Regions from separate parts of the Homo sapiens genome. Here region 1 is linked to region 2. Evidence: promoter capture Hi-C in human tissues and cell types (Jung and others, 2019). All regions are on one chromosome and are shown on one strand. The core of a region is centred on a gene start or on the middle of the fragment in contact, and the rest is flanking DNA. Distances in the headings are between cores, read along the strand shown.

Region 1 (4,049 bases), core at 624-3,123, 220 kb before region 2:
CTTCTAAATGGAGAGCATTTTGCCAAACCTTCCTGGGAGAGGCTGGGGGCTCATCCCTGTTGTCTGTTCCATCTTGGTAAAGCCAGGTTAAGACATCTGGGTAAGCAGACAGTAGAGTGGCACCCAGGAAGGGTGGGTGGAGGGCGCTGGCATTTAGGCTTGCCTGGACCATGGTGGGAGGGGGAAGGTTACCAGGAAGCAGTGCTGTCAGGGCTAAAGTCAGGAGGAGGTGGTTATGCTGGTGAGGCAGGGGTGTGGCTGGCTTGCGGTGGGGCATAAATGAGAGCCAAGGTTTGTCAGCATGCAGAAGAGGCAGCTGACTCATCCCTAGGGGCTGCGGAGGAGGTCGGGTCACTCTTGATCCCAGTTCCCAGTGAAAACTGGAGGTTGCCATCACCTAACCACACATGCAATAAAGTCTTCTGCCTGCTGCTTACAGCCCCCGAGAACCTTCTCCGAGAGAATAAAACCTTTGACTGCTGCTCTTCCTGAGTGGATTTTGTTTGTGTCTTCTGATGAACTGTGATGTCCCGTCTATCATTTTCCCAGGCTCAAGGATCCACCAAAAGTTGACGCCTCTTTTGGGGAGGCTCTGCAGTGCCTTCTTCTCACCAGGCTCCCCGGGAAGCTTGTGAACTTGGCTTGCACCCTAAGCAGCCAGGTACACGCAGGGGCTCTGCTTCTTGCTTTCACTAAGAGAGAGAGCCAAGAAAGAGACTGAAGCATGGTCTGCAGAGAAGACACTGGTGCAAACGCCAGGAGAACGAGGGGCCTGAGTCATCTTCATTCCCCTTAAAAACACGCATTCCCTCCCAGGCCACCTTAGGGCATGAAGCACAGTGAGAGTGTGTGTGTGTGTGTGAGTGTGTGTGTGTGCAGGTATATGCACGTGTATTTATGTGCATGTGTGCGTGTGTGTGCGTTCATGTGCATGCACGTATGCATGTGTACATGTCTGCTTGCATGTGTGCATGCGTGTGTGGTGCAGGGATATGAGGTGGACAGGATGTCGGAGGGCAGCTCCAGCTCCAAGCTGCACGTTTCTCTGTTAGAATGGTTTAGATTCCCTGGACCACAGCAAGAGAGTGTTTTCACGTGCATCCATTTTTCTTAGCATTGAAACCCATATTTTTAGCAGCATGTAAACCTTAATTTGCTTAACTATTCTTAGAAGCATTTATACCGGTGGTCCCCAACCTTTTTGGTCCCAGAGACCAGTTTCATGGAAGACTTTTCCACGGACCCGGGAGAAGGGGAAAGGATGATGCGGAGATGATTCAAGCCCATTACATTTATTGTGCACTTTATTTCTATTATTATTTCACTGTAATATATAATGAAATAATTATACCATTCACCATAATGTAGAATAAGTAGGAACACTGAGCTTGTTTTCCTGCAACTAGATGGTCCCATCTGGGGGTGATGGGAGACAGTGACAGATCATCAGGCATTAGATTTCATAAGGAGCACACAACCTAGATCCCTGGCATGCGCAGTTCACAGTAGGGTTCATGCTCCTATGAGAATCTAATGGCACCACTCATCTGACAGGAGACACAGCTCATGTGGTAATGCAAGGGATGGGGAGCGGCTGTTTCTACAGATGAAGCTTTGCTCACTGGCTGGCTGCTCACCTCCTGCTGTGCAGCCTGGTTCCAAACAGGAGGGAACCCGTGATTTATCCAGTAAGATAAATCCATTATGTAAGTTGACATTATTCACTCTGCACCACCCAAAATTATCTTGCATACCTACACACACCCAAGGGTCCGACAGCACACTTTGGGAGCTGTAGACAGTAAGCCTGGAGGTCCATTGCGAATTCCATCTCTTCACCCTGTAGGCTAATAGGCTATGTTAGTTTCCTAGGGCTGTTTTACAGTACCACAGACTGGGCACCTTCAACAACAGAATCTTACTGTCTCACAGTACTGGAGGCCATGAGTCCAAGATCAAAGTGTCAGCAGGGTGGGTTTCTTCTGAGGCTGTGCAGGAAGGTTCTGTTCCAGGCCTGTCTCCTGGCATGTCGGTGGCTCCCAGTCTCTAAAAAACAAACAAAAAAAAAAGAATATGGAAAGGAAAGGTCATTCTGATGAAGTCTCAGATGGAAATCAAGAAGAGGTAAATGGAAACTGGAGGAAAGGTGAGTGACGCTTGCCATAAAGTGGCAAAGCACTAGTGTTTGGTGGAAGGCAGAACTTGTGAGTGATGTAACTGAAATTTGGCAGAAGAAATATCTCAGCAAAGTATTGAAGGAGCGGCTTGATTGTCTTGAACGTTTATAGGAAAATGAAAGAAAAAGAGGAATGATTTAGAGACAGAACTTATAATCAAAAGGGAAGCAGAACTTAAAGATTTGGGAAACTTTTAGCCTTCTCAGCCTGCCCGTTTTGAACAGATAAGAAAGTGTGTTTGGGAGCGAACACGAGGGTGTGGGTCAGGAGGCCTGCGTGGATCAGGGCTGTGCTCCTCACCAGGACAATGGAAGAGCGACCCTGAAGGCATTGTGTGGATCACTCAGGCCGCACTCTCGTCACAGGCCCATGGTGCCAGGGCACTGACGGCAGTACGGTTTCCAAGAAAGGCCCTGGGGCGCCCTGAGGACCCCTGAGGACCTTGGGGCTTGCTGCCCAGCACTCCCTGAAGTCGCTGGTTCCCACACTGTGCTGTGGTGCTCCTTGGCTGCTCCAAGTGTTGCTCAATGGGCCCTGGTGGAGTGGGGGACATGCTATCACCCCTCCAGAGGACACAGGCAGAAAACTCTTTGGAGCATCCACGTGGTGCTCATTCTGCAGGTGTGCAGAGTGCAATAGCTGTGGGATATGGCTGCCTCCACCTGCATTTCAAAGTATGTCCCAGACAGCCTTGGGGTCAGGCAGAAAACTGCCACAGGGGCAGGGACACCACAGAACGTTCCCACTAGGGCAATGCCCAGCAGAGCCGTGGGGAAGAGGCTATCCCCAAGATTCCAGGATGGTAGAGCCAGCAGTGTGCAAGTCCACCCTGGGAGAGCCTCAGGCATCAAACTCCAACATGTGAGAGCTGCTGCCTGGGCTGCACCCAGCAAAGCCATGGGGGAAGAGCCACCTGAAGCCCTGGGCCGCCCAACCACATCCTAGTATATCTGGAACATGGGCCATGGAGTCAAAGAAGGTTCTCAAGTTTTAAGATTTAATGTTCTTTTCCCGGTTGGGTTTTGGACTCACTTGGGGCAACAACAACAACCAAAAACACCAAGCTGAAAGCAAAAAACACAAAATAAACACCTTAACCCTATCCCTCCATTTAATGTAATTCAGGACTCTAACCAAGAAGAATTTCTCAATTTCTCAGCAAAGCTACAGGGCTAATATTCAAACCCGCCTATAAGCAATGCTATTTCTTTTCCTTAGGTAATTATTTTCCCAGAACTCTATAAAACAACTAAAATATTTTTGACCAGAAATTAAACATATAAAAAAGACCATCTAGGCCTTTGCAGCATGCACCTCCAAACTCTTCCAGCCTCTACTCATTATCCACTTGCACATTTTTGCGTATTTTTTAGAGCAGCATTCCACTTCCTGGTATCAAAAATCAATACGAGTTTGCTAGGGCTACGGTAAGAATATACCACAGATGGAGGTCTTAAATAACAGAAATATTGTTTCTCACAGTTCGGGGTCCCAGAAGTCCAAGACTAAGGTATCAGCAGAATCGGTTTCTTCTAAGGCCTGGCTCCTTGGCTTATAAGTGGCCACCCTCTTGTCTGTGTCTCCATGTGGTCTTCGGTCTGTGTCTGTGTCCTCATCTCCTCTCCTTATAAGGACACCAGACAGATTGGATGAGGGCTCACCCATATGACCTCGTTTCCCCTTAATTACACCTTTAAAGGTCCCATCTCCAAACACAATCCCATTCTGAGGCACTTGGGGTTAGGACTTCAACGTATCAACTTGGGGGTGGGGGACACAATTCAGCCCATAACACCCGACTTCTGTGCCCCCAAAACTGCTTAGGCAGAAGAAATGATGGGGTGGCTCACCATGGTCCCTTCAAAGCTTCTG
Region 2 (3,768 bases), core at 914-3,413:
TTCAGCAGGCATCCCTTGAGAATTAGAACATTCTCTACATAACTGCAATACCATGATCACAACTAATAATAATTAATCATTATTTCCTAATATCACCTAATATCCAATTGTAGAAGTTGCTGGTGGTGCTCTACTCACACATCCTTGGCCTACCCAGAAGTTACCTGCAAAGAGTTCCCATATAGCCAGTGACTTCCTGAGCATCTTTTCCTGGACATGTTGGCCAGCTTGAGAGAGTACACTTTGCCCTCACAGGGCAGGCTGAAAGTGCCAGAGAGTCAACACCTTGAGAGTGTCCCTCAGCCGGAGATGGAGAGAAGTTGCTTCCTTCCCTATCAGTAGTTGATTCTGAGGTATGCTGCACAGAATACAACTTGTCCAAAGCTCCAGGGATATAGTTGCTCACGGTAGTAATCTTTAACACATTCTTTACTAGTTTCCTCCCTTCCCTATCTTACTTCCTTACTATGCTTCCTGAGATCACTTTTTTTTTTTTTTTTTTTTGAGGAAGGGTCTCACTCTCTCGCCCAGATTGGAATGCAGTGGTCCAATCTTGGCTCAACACAACCTCCACCTCCCAGCCTCAAGGGATTCTTCCACCTCAGCCTCCCAAGTAGCTGGGATTACAGGCGCCCGCCACCATGCCTGGCTAATTTTTCTATTTTTAGTAGAGACGGGGTTTCATCACATTGGCCAGGCTGGTCTCGAACTCCTGACCTCAAATGATCCACCCTCCTCGGCCTCCCAAAGTGCTGGGATTAAGGGAGTGAGCCACTCACCGTGCCCGGCCGAGATCACCTTTAAATAAACTATTGGCACTCAAAGCTCTGTCTCAGGGTCTATTTTGGAGGCACCAAGAACCAAAACATCACTCCATTGCTAAATTCATTTTAAAATGACAATCTTGGATCCCTGGAGAGGCAAACTCAAAACCTGTTTGGGTGGTGCTTGCAACCCAGCCAACAGGAGCTGCTCTTAGCTCTGATTTTTGCTTGAACAATGCTATAGTGAGGTTGTGTTGATTTAGGATGCCCTGCTCAGCCTATATTAATAATAATAGTAATAAGAGCTACTGTTTACCAAGAGCTTACTGTGCGGCAGATTCACATGCTTCATTTCATTTAATCCTCACAGTGACTCCGTAGGGAGGGTACTATTACTATTTCCATTGTATTGATGAAGATCCTGAGGCTCATGGAGGTTAAATAACTTTTCAAAGTTACATAGCTAGTAAGAGGCAGATTGCTGGTGTGCTTCAGCAGTGTGTTAAAATGTGTAGATAACTATAAATATTCTTCTGTTATATTTTTGTGTAAATGGGAACAATAGTACTTGGCAGATAAAATTTGCATCGTTAACAATACCATAAACATAGTGTAATGCAAGGATCTCCCAATCAGGTGAGAGCCTCAAGAGGATAAAACTGTTCCCTAGGCCAAGGTGGGCAGATTGCTTAAGGCCGGGAGTTAGAGACCAGCCTAGGAAACATGGCGAAATTTCATCTCTACCAAAAATATATATATTAACAAAGTTTAGCTGGGCATGGTGACTCACGCCAGTAGTCCTAGCTCCTTGGGAGGCTGGGAGCAGAGGTTCAGTCAGCCACAATTGTGCCATTGCATTCCAATCTGGGTGACAGAGTGAAACCCTGCCTCAAAAAACAAAACAAACAACAACAACAAAAAAACGGCTCCCTGCCATGCCTGGCTTGGTACAGCTTATGCACTGGGCTTGGGTTACTAGTGGTAACTAAGACTTTTCCAGCATTATTTAAGTTGTGTAGAATCTTCCAATGTTTTGACCTCTGTTAAAGTCAAACTTCTCTTTGGACTCGTCCCTTCACAATCCCCAGGCTAGATGATCAAAACGCAGCCATCTTACTTAAATATGACAATATTCAGTGAGATGCGCTACAGATTTTTGCACAAGTTCAAGCTTTCTTGGAACAACACATCCCTGTTAGTAATATCCGGCCCCACCTAGTAACCGAGGTAGACATAGAAACTTAGATCTTAAGAAGATGTCTTTCCCAATTACTATCTTCTCTAAGACTCCATAAAGAAAAACAGACTTTGAACCCAAGTTATCTTATTTATTTGACCCTGCTGTCATAAAGCGTTCAAATTCAAGTATTATAAAGGATTGTAACAGGGAAAGCATTTAGGGTTTTCAGGCAGAGGAACAGTTGGCCAAGGAAGTCAGCTTCTCAGAGCTCAAGAGGTAAGTGGTAAGACTGTCTTATATAGAAAGTAGAGAGTCATACAGATTAAAAACAAGCCAAGTGAGGGGAATACATTTTGAAAAGTTGCTGTCTCGGTGGAGTGGAGGGAAAGAGAAGACATAGATTTGTCCCCTTAATAGGGCTGGGTGAGGTCTGGCAAGAAGCCTGCACTCTCAGTTTTTATTGAGTACTTGTAGTGCAGAGCGCTTGAGAAAACTCTACTATTGACCACATTCTGCAGTAATCACTGTTACAACACTGTGATAGAAATCTTTTTGGCAAATATTTAAAATTACAAAAGAATCAATATTAGTAGTAATTGCATCTTACGAAAAGATTGATGCAGGCTTGTCTGCCAGAAAGGGTGAGCCTGGCATGAATGAAACTTACTCCTGTCAGGGCACGCCTGGGACAGGGGAGGAGTAGAGTAGGTATAGGTATATTTCAGCTCTTGTAAATTAATACTGGTGTTAAGGGGAGAGAACTCCCAGTGGCCAGGGACTGGAAAAGATTAACAGCAGCTTTTTTTTATTTTTTTATTTTTTATTTTTATTTTTTGAGACCGAGCCTCACTCTGTCGCCCAGGCTGGAGTGCAGTGGCATAATCTTGGCTCACTGCAACCTCCACCTCCCAGGTTCAAGCAATTCTCCTGCCTCAGCCTCCCGAGTAGCTGGGATTACAGGCGCTCGCCACCATGCCTGGCTAATTTTTTTTTTTTTTTTTTGCATTTTTAGTAGAGATGGGGTTTCACTATGTTGGTCAGGCTAGTCTCAAACTCCTGACCTCAGGTAATCCACCTGCCTCAGCTCCTAAAGTGCTGGGATTACAGGCATGAGCCACTGCACCCAGCCTAACAGCAGCTTCTTAAAGGAAAAGAATATTAATCTAGGCAGTAGATTGGGTAGTAGGGTGGTTGAGAGTAGGGTGGTTAAGAGCATGGTCTTGGGAGTCTGGGTTCAAATCCCGACCTTGACATTTACTGTCTGTGGGATCTCAGGCAAATTACATAGTCTCTTTAAATCTATAGAAACGACCTCAGGAGGGTTGTTAGGAGGCTTAATTGTGACTGAAATGATGTATGTAAAGTGTTTAGCACAGTCCCTGTTGCGCAGAAAGTTTTCCGTATGTGGTTCGCTATATTTATAGTAGTACTCTTGAAAGGAAGTAATGAATATATGTTTTTTTCCCAGATGGAAATGGAGAATATCTTAGGGAGAGGGAGAGTTGAAGCAAAAGCAAGAAGGGAGAAAGGACACCTTTATTATTTATTATTTTTAGTCCATTGGGTCAAGGGGAAGAGAGAGAGAGAATAGTGGGAGAAAGACAAGATTAACATGGTTTAAACTAGAGGCCATGTTTCAATTGAGGCTTTTCTACGTACACACCATTTGAATCTATGGGATTTGGAGTAGTCTCAAAAACTCTCTATTATCAGAGAACATCTTTACAAAAATGACCCAAGAAAAACTTTCAGAACAAGAATTACTTTGTTCAGTAGGGACTGTCTGAGAATGAGACAAGTTTCATTCTGCTAAAATGAAATTCT

The links. Contacts are between HindIII fragments. The study calls those that stand out against the background at their distance.
Region 1: a contact is called between a fragment that was not itself captured here and the fragment with the promoter of TMIGD1 in region 2, in 1 of the 25 tissues and cell types used here (adrenal gland).

What each region holds. Positions count from the first base shown.
Region 1 is chr17:30,546,928-30,550,976 of GRCh38, reverse strand. No RefSeq gene overlaps it. Among named protein-coding and RNA genes, the nearest start is that of GOSR1, 72 kb to the right of the region's middle. The HindIII fragment of the contact is 6,952 bases long and covers 1-4,049 here.
Region 2 is chr17:30,332,452-30,336,219 of GRCh38, reverse strand. It overlaps TMIGD1 (transmembrane and immunoglobulin domain containing 1), which reads left to right and starts at 2,163. Exons shown (of 7, transcript NM_206832.3): 1 at 2,163-2,220. The HindIII fragment of the contact is 9,023 bases long and covers 1-3,768 here.